Regions from separate parts of the Homo sapiens genome. Here all the other regions are linked to region 1. The links are contacts of gene promoters, found by promoter capture Hi-C in human tissues and cell types (Jung and others, 2019). All regions are on one chromosome and are shown on one strand. The core of a region is centred on a gene start or on the middle of the fragment in contact, and the rest is flanking DNA. Distances in the headings are between cores, read along the strand shown. Region 1 holds the start of DNM1L (dynamin 1 like). Region 2 overlaps DENND5B (DENN domain containing 5B). Region 3 overlaps DENND5B (DENN domain containing 5B).

Region 1 (4,192 bases), core at 812-3,311:
CACAGTTCACTGCAGTCCCCACCTCCCAAGCTTAGGTGATCCTCCTACTGCAGCCTCCCAAGTAGTTGGGGCCACAGGTATGCACCACCACGACAGGCAAGCTAATTTTTTTGTATTTTTTGTAGAGACTGGGTTTTGCCGTGTTGCCCAGGCTGGCCTTGAACTCCTGACCTCAAGTGATCTGCCCGTCTCCTGCCTCAGCCTCCTGAGTAGCTGGGATTACAGGAATGCACCACCACGCCCGGTTAATTTTTGTATTTTTAGTAGAGACGGGGTTTCTCCATGTTGGTCAGGCTGGTCTTGAACTCCTGACCTCAAGTGATCCGCCTGCCTTGGCCTCCCAAAGTGCTGGAATTACAGGCGTGAGCCACGGTGCCTGGCCTCTCCTCACCTGCTTTAATTCTTTACTCAAATGTCACCTTTTTACTTTGAGGTTTACTTTTACCTTTGGAGGTTTGGAGTAGAGGAGGGATACTATCTGTCTAAAAAGAAAAACAACATTTAGAAATATAACAGTATGGGCCGGGCATGGTGGCTCAGGCCTGTAATCCCAGGACTGTGGGAGGCCAAGATGGGCGGATCACTTGAGGTCAGGAGTTCGAGACCAGCCTGGCTAACATGGTGAAACCCCGCCCCCCACCCGTCTCTACTAAAAATACAAAAATTTTCCCAGGGTGGTGGCGGGTGCCTGTAATAACAGCTACTTGGGGGGCTGAGGCAGGAGAATCACTTCAGCCTGGGAGGAGGAGGCTGCAGTGAGCCGAGATTGCGCCACTGCATTCCAGCCTGGGCGACAGAGTCAGACTCTGTCTCAAAAAAAAAAAAGAACGGTATGAGCAAAGAGTGAGTAAGGCAGTTATCAGATGTCTACTTTGCCAGGAATCAGGCTACAGCAAATAAAGGTTTATACATAATATTGATAATAAATGCCCAGCTCTTCCCCTGTAAAACTCCAATACTCTAAGATTTTTTTCATGAACACCGCCCCCCGCTGCTCCGACCCCTGCTTTTTTATTTATTTATTTATTTATTTGGTAGAGATGAGGTCTCACTATGTTGACCAGGCTGGTCTCGAACTCCCAGCTCAAGCGATCCTCCTGCTTCTGCTTCCTAAAGTGCTGGGATTACACCGCGCTCGGTCCTGAACACACATTTTGTTTGTTTGTTTGTTTGTTTACAAAACCCCTGGAGAACCCGCGTATTCTAACCTGGGCTGGTTTTTGTATTTTTGCAAAATAACACCCCACACATTCTCGTATCAGCGTGCAGATTTTTTTGCACCCAGTTTGGTTGTTTGCGGCCATAAGCTTTTCTTTAAGCCTTTCCAACCCGTCCTTCTAGAGAAAGTGTCTTCATAAGGAAGTCACACTGCTCACGCCTGTAATCCCAACACTTTGGGAGGCCGAGGCGGGTGGATCACTAGGTCCGGAGATCGAGACCATCCTGGAAAACACAGTGAAACCCCGTCTCTACTAAAAATACAAAAAATTAGCCGGGCGTAGTGGTGGGTGCCTGTAGTCCCAGCTACTCCGAAGGCTGAGGCAGGAGAATGGCGTGAACCCGGGAGGCGGAATTTGCAGTGGGCCGAGATCGCGCCACTGCACTCCAGCCTGGGCGACAGAGTGAGACTCCGTCTCAAAAAAAAAAAAAAAATAAATAAATAAAAAATAAATAAAAGGAAGTGACACTGGATAATTAAGAGACACACCATTGCGCCTTTAACACATATTCACACCCAGCACTGTCACATCCATCGTGCCTTGAGGACAGGCATAAATTTACGGCCTTCCTCCTGCGCTCCCGGCCTGCTCCTAGCCTTTGACTAGAGCCTGCGCAGCATCCCAGTCCCAGGCTAGGGCCCACCGGTGCCGCGCAGCCTCCTGGAAGCTGTGGGGAGTAGCGTTCCTCCGCTCCAGAACTACAACTCCCAGCAGGCCTTGCTCCTCTCCACCTCCCTCGCAGCGCATGGCCTGCCGGGAGGGGGCAGGTAGCCGGCGGGCCCGGTCCAATGGGTGCCGGCTTCCGAGGAGAGGGCGGAGGAGAGGAGGAAGGAGGCGAACTGTGGGCCCCGGCCCCATTCATTGCCGTGGCCGGCGGGCACTGGGGCCCCGTGTTTTCAGAGTCATGGAGGCGCTAATTCCTGTCATAAACAAGCTCCAGGACGTCTTCAACACGGTGGGCGCCGACATCATCCAGCTGCCTCAAATCGTCGTAGTGGGAACGCAGGTGAGAGCAGCAGGCGGCGTTCGCTCGGGCCAGACCCCGGCCGCAGGCCTGGTCGGTGCTGCGGCAGTGCCCACTCCCGCGCCAGCGCCCACTCCCGCGCCAGCCTTTGGGGCCTGTGGGAGGAGGGCCTTGCTGGGGGCCCCAGGGCTCTCCGGGCTCTGCCGCACCCGCCCTCCCGGGGCAGCGTTGCATCAAGGCGGAGAATCCGGGGCCCGGCCAGGGGCGGAGCCGGCGCGGCGGGCCTGGCTAGCCCGGCGGGTCCCGGGGACAGGAGAGGGAAGGATGGGGCCGGCGGGCGGAACTGGAGTCCGCTGGGACCGGGCGCGGCCTCGTCCGCGTGCCGCTGCCTCCAAGGGCACCTGGGGGACGCGCGGGGCACTCGGGTCTCGCTGGGCTCGGTGGGCTGGCTGTTCCCATCACTGTTGGCTTTCGTGAGACGGGTGTTTTATTTCCCTCCTTGCCTTGCCCAGGGACTGCGGAGTTAGTTTTGGAATCGCTCTGTTGAGGCTGAGAGACGCTACGGTGCGTGAGCGCCAGTGTTTTCCTGCAGTATAATTCCACCAGGTTTCGAGAACGCCGAAGCAGCATTTTAAAAAAAGAAAAACAAAACGTGTATCTAGAGTTCTGCGGGTGTTGGGAAGGAATATCCGATTTTTCTGCGTAGGCTGTGCTTTTTGTCTTCCACAGTTTTGTGATCGTGACCTAAATTGGGCATCAGTTTCTCTGGTCTTCTCATAGCTAACTCATTTTTTTTTGAATGCAGAAATGTTGGCAAAATAACTGTTATTTCTAGAGTGACAGAGGAGAAGTATAATTTTCCTTTTCTCTGCTACTTCGATTAGAGTTCAGAGAAACGGATTTTAGAAATTAGTATATTGATATTAAGTGCTTTCATTTCTTAATAGTATCTTTTCTATTGAGAAGGAGCGGTTTCCCCATCATTTTCCAGGAGGTACATAGTATAGGGTATAAGTGCTATCAGAAGGAACTTACTGTTCAAAGTATTAGTGGCTATCCAAACACTGGAAACTATAGACACCCTGTACTCGTTTGTTTGTTTGTTTGTTTTTTTGGCTTTTAAATAGTTGAAGCAATAGAAATTGTTTTAGAAACACATTTCCTTGGTCTGCGATAGGATTGGGAAAGATTCTGCTCAATCTTGCCTACGTATTCTAGTATTTGTAACAATATTTGTAATGTTTGGAGACTCAGAAGCATCAAACAAATTACGAGGATTATTTTTTATTGAACATAATTTTGTTCAGTCTGGGACATATAGTAAGTGCTCTGTAAATATTTTGAGTAAATATTGCTCACTCTAACCACAATGTTTTAAAACACTGGGACTTTTATCATCAAAACTAACCTGTTTTTGTAAAAAGTTAGAGATAATATAAATTAAGTCTTTGATAGTAAGTGATTCAGAAGTGTCTTCTAGCTGCACACTAGAAACTTTCCACATACTTTTAAAAGAGAGTCTCAGTGCTTTTTAAGCATGAGGAAGTAAAAGAATTAGGGATATAGTGTGTCAGCATAAATAGTTTAAAATCAATAAGTTGTTTTTTTCTTTTTACACAAAATAGAGTTTATTTTGGTCAGTAAACCTGTTGGCAAAATACAGAGTGGCAGGAGAGAAAAGTAAAGATCCCATCCTTCTGAAAGCCATTAACATGTGCAAAAACCATCCTAGTACTGACAGTTATATGCTATATTTGCATGTTGGTGTTTGAAATTTCTCAAGAGGTCAGTTTTTCTACTTGATTTAATGAGGGTTATTTCCATCTAAGTTCTTATTAGCTGATAATCAGTCTTTTACTCAAGTACAGAAGAAATACAGAATAGAAATTATCCGAGGTAGGCAGATCACTTGATTCCAGGAGTTCAAGACCAGCCTGGGCAACGTGGGGAAACTCCATCTTTACGAAAAATACGAAAATTAGCTGGGCATGGTGGTGCGAACCTGTAG
Region 2 (3,966 bases), core at 455-2,954, 1.2 Mb before region 1:
CAAGAAACTGAGATTACCGGCATGCACCACCACACCTGCCTGGCTAATTTTTGTATTTTTAGTAGAGATGGGGGTTTGCCATGTTGGCCAGGCTGGTCTCAAACTCCTGGCCTCAAGTGATCCGCCTGCCTTGGCCTTCCAAAGTGTTGGGATTACAGGTGTGAGCCACCACACCTGGCCTATTCTTGCAATTCTGGAAGATTTAGGGGGCTGGCAGGAGACAAGACTGAGATTGTTTAGGCCATCCTGTTGCTGACACAATCCTGGCACTTAAGCGGGAATGCAGTGGCCTAAGTGTAAGGCAACATATCTCTCATACCATTTCACCAAAACAAAACAAAAAACACTTCTGAGTGAATGTCTGGCCATCTTATTAGCATCTTATTAATCTGTTTTGACATTATCCTAAAAATATGCTTTTCCTCAAAAAAAAAAAAGTCGTACAACACTGTGAATGTATTAAATGCCATTAAATTGTACACTTCAGAATGGTTAACTTTATGTTATATAAATTTTGCCCCAATTTTTAAAAATGAAAAAAAGAGTATATGACAAGAAAGATAACTACAGGATTACCAAAGCCATTATATTTTCCCTCATTTGTATGTACATGACACACTGGTTCTATAATGTTTCCCAAGAATAGATCTTGAATCCTAAGACTGCTGTGATGGGACTCTGAGAGAAGAGATTATAATGTCAGAATACTTAGCTCCTAGGATGTGATTAAGCTTATTTTGTTCATCACTAAAGTGGTATCATAGCATTCTTTCTACCATATTAAAGTAAATGAATCCTAATTAACATCTGTAATAGCTCAGTGGGCCTCTTTGTCTTTTAAGTGAAAACTACTGAGCCCTTTTTTTTTTTTTTTTTTTTTTAGATCATGTCATAGAAACATTGGTGGCACAATCCAAGTGGTGACGAATCAATTAATGCATGGAATAAAAAAAGAGCTGAAAAGACAGTAGTAAACATAGGGCTAATTTATGAATTGTATTTTTAATGAAATTACCTTTTATTAGGAAACTCTAAGAGGTCTATTTCTCTCCTTTTGAATTTGGGCTTGCCTTGTGACCAGCAGAATATGGCAGAAATGTCACTGTGACAGTCCTAGGTTCAGCCCTTAAGAGAGTCCTGGAAGCTCCTGTTGTTTCTATCTTAGAATTCATTTAAGAAGCCTGGTTGGGACGGGCACGGTGGCTCACACCTGTAATCCCAGCACTTTGGGAGGCTGAGGTGGGCAAATCACCTGAGGTCAGGAGTTCCAGACCAGCCTGGCCAACATGGTGAAACCCCATCTCTACCAAAAATACAAAAATTAGCCGGGCATGATGGCATGTGCCTGTAATCCCAGCTACTTGGGAGGCTGAGGGAGGAGAATCGCTTGAACCTGGAAGGCAGGGGTTGCAGTGACCTGAGACTGCACCATTGCACTCCAGCCTCGGCGACAGAGCCATGATACTCTGTGACATTTACAAAAGAAGGAATATCCTTGAAATTTAAGAAAAAATAAAAACCAAAAACAAAGAAAAAGAAAAAAAAAGAAATTTGAGCAAGGTAAGCTTAGGATAAGCAGAGGACAGTGTGACTTGACACATCAGCTTAGAGACCCAGTTTTCTATAGTCCTCTCTTAACTCCTATCATCTGAGAGCCCTACTCTCTTTTACTGATTCTCTCACCATTTCTCAGGCCTTTGTCCCTGTTCTCTTGCTCCCTTCCATTCCCCTTTCTTCATCTACTAAAATGATACACCTCATGAGAACATACACAAATGACCAATAGGCACATGAAAAGATGCAACATCATTAGTCATTAGGGAAATACAAATCGAAACCACAATGAGATACCACTTCACACCCACTTGCATGACCAAAATAGAAAAGACAGACATTAACACATGTTGGCTTAGATGTAAAGAAATTGGAACCCTCATCCATTGCTGGTGGAAATGTAAAATAATAACTGCTTTGAAAAAGTCTGCTAATTCTTCAAGTGGTTAAACATAGTATATACCCAACATTAATAAAAACATGTCTGTCCATGCAAAAATCTGAATGTTCATAGCAGCATTATTCATAATAGCCCAAAAGTAGAAACAACCTAAATTTCCATCAACTGATGAATGAAAAACTAAAATATACTTCTATAAAATAGAATATCTGGCCATAAATAGGAATGTAGTACTGATGAGTGCTACAATGTGGATGAATCTTGAAAATATGCAAAGTGAAAGATGTCAGACACATACTGTACAATTCTATTTATATGAAATACCAGAATAGGCAAATTTACAGACATATAAAGAATATGTGTTGCCAGGAGCTGAGTGAAGGGGAGAATGGGGAGTGAACACAGGTATGGGGTTTCTTTTGTGGCTGATGAAGATGTTCTAACATTTATTGTGGAATGGTTGCACAACTCTGTGAATATATGCATAGCAATTGAATTGTTTGCTTTAAATGGTGCATTTGATATGTATACGTTAATAATATCTCAATAAAGCCATTTAAAAAAATTCTATGAGGTCAGGCACGGTGGCTCACACTATAATCCCAGCACTTTGGGAGGCTGAGATGGGTGGATTGGCTTGAGCTGAGGAGCTCATGACCAGCCTGGGCAGCATGGAGAAACCCCTTCTCTACAGAAAAATATAAAAATTGGCCAGGTGTGGTAGCAAGTGCCTGTGGTCCCAGCTACTCCAGAGGCTGAGGTGGGAGAATTGCTTAAGCCCAGGAGGCAGAGGCTGCAGTGAGCTGAGATTGCACCATTGCACTCCAATCTGAGCAGTGGAAGTGAAACCCTGTCTCGAATAAATTTTTTAAAAAATTCTATTAATACTTTAAGGGCAAGTTTAAATGTGATCTTCTCCCTATTTCTCACCTCACCCAGTTAACATTAATAATTTCCTCTGTGCTGTCAAACCAGTTGTTATTACAGTCTGTTAGTTATATATTACCTATATTAGAACCCAGGCTAGTAAAAAACTTACTCAAATTTCTTTACATCCCCCTTCACAAGGAGGAATTCGATACAGTTCATTACACAGGGTAGGTACCTAACACGTCTTTACTACAGAAATATTTACATTTACCCATTAAAATGTCACAAACAGTTAATGGTTAGGCTAGGATTCACCTCTTCAAATGACAACATGAAAGGATTGGGAAGCTCTGATGGCAGAAGAGAAGACGCTAGATAAACTCTGCATTTGACCCAGAAAACATGTCAAATCCTATGATCTTGTCTAAAGTTCAACAATGCCCTGTAGCTATATATTCTAGTGCTCCTAAGTTTTACAACCTTTCCTTCCTTTAGAAATATTCACGATGTGAATGCTGAGGCATAAATAAATAAAAGAAATATTCACTTGAGCAAATAATCCACAAGAATCCTTTAAGAAGTAGTCTCTGCAGAGATTAGGGGAGACTAAAGAGACATAACTAAATGCAATGTGGTATCCTGGATTGGACAGTGGAACAGAAAAAGGGTATTAGTGGAAAAATTCACGAAATCCAAATGAAGCCTGGAGTTTAGTTAACAGTATTATTCCAATGTTAATTTCTTAGTTTTGATGAATGTACCATGGTTATGTGAAACGTTAACATTTGGAGAAACTGGGTGAAGGGTAAACAGGAATTCTACACTGTCTTTGGAACTCTTCCGCAAATCCAAAGTTATTTCAAAATACTGTTGTGACTCTACTGTGAATTAAGGCAAAGAAGGATATATTAATCTAAAGTATTTTCATATTCATCCATTCAACAAACTATTTTGTGCCTGCTATGAACATAACATTCTGGGATGACTCTGGGAACAAAACAAAGATTCCTGCCACCATGGTGCTTATAGTTCAGTAGGGAAAACAGGCAATAAACAATAAACATAATAAATAAGTTACACGGTATGAGAGAGGGTGATATGGAAAAACATGACAGTAAAGAGCATTGAGGGATCAGCACTGG
Region 3 (4,198 bases), core at 269-2,768, 1.3 Mb before region 1:
TCAGTTCGTACCATTTCCTTCCTCAAACACAACAATTATTTGTCCTCTTCCTCCACCAAGATCAACCTGTGTACAGGCTTAACCCCATGGAACTATTTCACCAAGTAAGACTGAAAATTGACTACAATATTAAAAGGTGGCTGTTTGTTTTGTTTTGTTTTTTGAGACACAGTCTCACTCTGTCACCCAGGCTGGAGTGCAGTGGCACAATCCTGGCTCACTGCAACCTCTGTCTCCTGGGCTCAAGTGACCTCAGCCTTGCAAGTACCCAGACTACAGGTGCATGCCACCATGCCCAGCTAATTTTTGTATTTTTTGTAGAGATGGAGTCTCACCATGTTGCCCAGGCTGGTCGTCTCAAACTCCTGGGCTCAAGCAATCTGCTCACCTTGGTCTCCCAAAGTGTTGAGATTATAGGCATGAGTCACTGCGCCTGGCCAAAAGGCATTTTTATAGAATCATTCTATAAATGTCACCATGTGGTCTAAAACCAGTAAGCAGATGCTTGAACCCAGGAGGTGGAGGTTGCAACGAGTGAAGATCACACCACTGCACAGCCTGGGCGAAAGAGCAAGATTCCGTCTCAAAAAAAAAAAAAAAAAAATCCATAAGCATGAATATCAGCTCTCCTGTCCTTTTGCCAAAGGATGACCAGGTTTGGGCAGAAAACATTTTACAGTAGGGAGGAGAACCACCGCGGGGAAAACATTTATTTGAATATTTCCTGCTTGCTAGAATCTGTGCTAGACCCTGAAAATAGTAGGAGAAGACCTAGAAAGCCCCAAAGCACATCATTACAAGTGAAAAATAGAGCTTAACAATGAAAATGCAAAACAAATTAGTATATAAGCTGCTTAAGACAACTTTAGACATATAATCACAAAAATGATCCTGCACGCTTTGAGTGTTCCTCTATTTTATTTGATTCAAGGAAAAATGAAAAAGCCAGACAGAATCATCTGTAAAACTACACGTGATACATTCTTCTAGGAAAGGTATTAGCTGAACCTACCTCAAAGGTCATTTCGAGGAGGTTTTTGGGAATCTGCATTACTCCTGTGTCTCCCAGCTCTCCTGATACACAGATCCAAGGGTTTGATGTGATTATTGCATTGCTCAGCTTTTTGATTGGGATGATCACTGACCTATACGGAATCACTGAAAGAAAAATGCAGAAATTAATTAAAAAGCGGGAATAAAATTCTCCTTATAACAAAACATATATTAAGAACTCTTGTTGGTTTTCATTGATAATTTGCTTTTTATGAGCTATCAAGATGTACTTATACGAAAAGTTGAGATCATAACCTTTCAGTCTAGAAAGATGAGATCTAGTTTGCAAACCAGAAGTCTCAATACTCGTAGCAGTGGTTTTCACAGCATGTATATCATCATGTATGTATGATGCATATATCAACATTAAACGTATGAACAATCTCAAGCATTAGCACGAGAATACCTAAAGATGTGAACACTGACTGTGTATATTGTGTTTTCATTGCTTAAATTTTCTTAAAAATTAATTTTGTAACAAAATTGAATAGAAATGAACATGATTACTGATATGGTTTTATATAAAAAGAGGGGTGGATGACTTCTTGGACAGTATTGAGTTTCTTGGGCAATGCTTTAAAGCACTGCATTTCAGAACTTTCCTGTCCCAAGTTTACAGAACAATATGCAAAAACCACAAATAATAAACAATGGAACCTCCACTCTGGACATATCGTGAAGTCTATAAACCACAACTTTGAAAGCTATTAAGGTGACTCACACGCAAGAGGAGCCCAGGGAGGCTCTTCCACAGACAGACCACTAGATGTCACTGCCCTATCACTGTCCTTTGCTCAAATGTGGAAGCACGAGAGGTTAGATGTTATGCATGTCCTCCCTTCTTTTTTTTTCTTTTTTTTTTTTGCCAACATGGCAAAACCCCGTCTCTACTAACAGTACAAAAATTAGCCGGGTGTGGTGGCAGGCGCCTGAAATCCCAGCTACTTGGGAAGCTCAGGCAGGAGAATCACTTGAACCCGGGAGGCAGAGGTTGCAGTGAGCTGAGATTGCACCACTGCATTCCAGCCTGGGCAACAGAGTGAGACTCTGCCTCAGAAAAAAAAAAGAAAGAAAAAAGAAAACGGCTGGATGTGGTGGCCTGTAATCCTAGCACTTTGGGAGGCCGAGGTGGGTGGATCACAAGGTCAGGAGCTTGAGACCAGGCTGACCAACACGGTGAAACCCCGTCTCTACTAAAAATACAAAAATTAGCCAGGTGTGGTGGCACACACCTGTAATCCCAGCTACTCAGGAGGCTGAGGCAGGAGAATCGCTTGAACCCGGGAGGCAGAGGTTGCAGCGAGCCGAGATTGTGCCATTGCACTCCAGCCTGGGCAACAGGAGTGAAACTCCATCTCCAAAAAAAAAAAAAAAAAAAAAAAAAAAGTGCAGACAGGGCCAGGCACGGGGGCTCATGTCTGTAATCCTACCTAGCACCTTGGAAGGCTGAGGTGGGCAGATCACTTGCGCTCAGGAGTTCATGACCAGCCTGGGCAACAAAGTGAGACCTTGTCTCTATACAAAATAAAAAACATAATTAGCCAGGTCTGGTGGTACACACTTGTAGTCCCAGCTACTCAGGAGGATGAGGAGGGGGGATCCCTTGAGCCAGGGAGGTCAAGGATGCAGTGAACTCTGATCCCACCACTGCACTCCAGCCTGGGCAACACAGCGAGACCCTATCTCAAAACAAAAAGGGGGCAGATGGTTTAAGCACATAAGCATTTTTGTCCATCACAGCCATACATTTCTGGTTTTTTGTTTGTTGGTTTTCTAGAGACAGGATGTAGCTCTGTCGCCCAGTCTGAAGTGCAGCAGCCCAATCAGTGTTCACTGCAGCCCTGATCTCTGGGGCTCAAGCAATCCTCCCATCTCAGCCTCCCCAGCAGTTGGGACTACAGGTGCACGCTACCACACCTGGCTAACTTTATTTATTTAGAGTTTCACTCTTGTCGCTCAGGCTGGAGTGTAGTGGCACATTCTTGGCTCACTGCAACCTCTGCCTCCTGGATTCAAGTGATTCTCCAGCCTCGGCCTCCCAAGTAGCTGGGATTACAGGCGTCTGCCACCTCGCCCAGCTAATTTTTGTACTTTTAGTAGAGAAGGGGTTTTGACATATTGGCCAGGCTGGTCTCGAACTCCTGAACTCAGGTGATCCACCGGCCTCAACCTCCCAAAGTGTTGGGATTCCAGGCATAAGCCACCGCGTCCGACCTCTAGCTTTTTTTTTTTTTTTTTGAGACAGAGTTTTGCTCTTGTGGCCCAGGCTGGAGTGCAATGGCATGATCTCGGCTCACTGCAACCTCTGCCTCCCGGGCTCAAGCGATTCTCCTGCCTCAGCCTCCTGAGTAGCTGGGATTACAACTGCACACCACCACGGCCAGCTATTTTTTGTATTTTTAGTAGAGATGCGGTTTCACCATGTTGACCAGGATGGTCTCGAACTCCTGACCTCAGGTGATCTGCTCACCTCGGCCTCCCAAAGTGCTGGGATTACAGGCATGAGCCACCGTGCCCGGCCCCTAGCTAACTTTTTAATTGTTCTTTTGTTGAGACAGCATGTCACTATTTTGCCCAGGCTAGTCTTGAACTGGACTCAAGCGATCTTTTTGCCTTGGCCTCTCAAAGTGCTGGAACTCCAGGCATGAGCCACTGCACCTGGCCTGATTGTAAAATTTTAAAGTTTTTTTTTTTTGAGACACGGTCTCGCTCTGTCACCCAGGGTAGAGTGCAGTGGCACGATCTCAAGCTTACTGCAATCTCCACCTCCTGGGCTCAAGTGATCCTCCCACCTCGGCCTCCCCAGTAGCTGGGACCAGAGGTGTGCACCACTACGCCCAGCTATTTTTTTGTAGTTTTAGTAGAGGCAGGGTTTTGCCATGTTGCCCAGGCTGGTCTCAAACTCCTAAGCTCAAGAGATCTGCCTGCCTTGGCCTCCCAAAGTGTTAAGACTACCGGCATGAGCCACCTGCCATGTATGTATGTATGTATGTATGTATGTATGTATGTATGTATGTATGTATTTTTGAGGCAGAGTTTCACTCTATCTCCCAGGCTGGAGTGCAGTGGTGCAATCTCAGCTCACTGCAACCTCTGCCGCCCGGGTTCAAGTGATTCTCCTGCCTTAGCCTCCCAAGTAGTTGGG

Evidence for each region. The method cuts DNA at HindIII sites, captures the fragments that hold promoters and counts their contacts. A contact is called where the count stands out against the background at its distance.
Region 2: a contact is called between a fragment that was not itself captured here and the fragment with the promoter of DNM1L in region 1, in 1 of the 25 tissues and cell types used here (aorta).
Region 3: a fragment that was not itself captured here is called in contact with the fragment with the promoter of DNM1L in region 1 in 1 of the 25 tissues and cell types used here (lymphoblastoid cells).

Annotation. Positions count from the first base shown.
Region 1 is chr12:32,677,240-32,681,431 of GRCh38, forward strand. DNM1L (dynamin 1 like) reads left to right here and starts at 2,062. Exons shown (of 20, transcript NM_012062.5): 1 at 2,062-2,226. The coding sequence starts at 2,125. RefSeq lists a silencer at 2,210-2,619. The HindIII fragment of the contact is 15,512 bases long and covers 669-4,192 here.
Region 2 is chr12:31,523,183-31,527,148 of GRCh38, forward strand. All of the region lies in intron 1 of DENND5B (DENN domain containing 5B), which reads right to left. Among named protein-coding and RNA genes, the nearest start is that of DENND5B-AS1, 65 kb to the right of the region's middle. The HindIII fragment of the contact is 5,763 bases long and covers 1-3,966 here.
Region 3 is chr12:31,401,486-31,405,683 of GRCh38, forward strand. DENND5B (DENN domain containing 5B) reads right to left here. Exons shown (of 21, transcript NM_144973.4): 15 at 1,013-1,158. Among named protein-coding and RNA genes, the nearest start is that of LINC02387, 34 kb to the left of the region's middle. RefSeq lists an enhancer at 3,626-3,765. The HindIII fragment of the contact is 8,206 bases long and covers 1-4,198 here.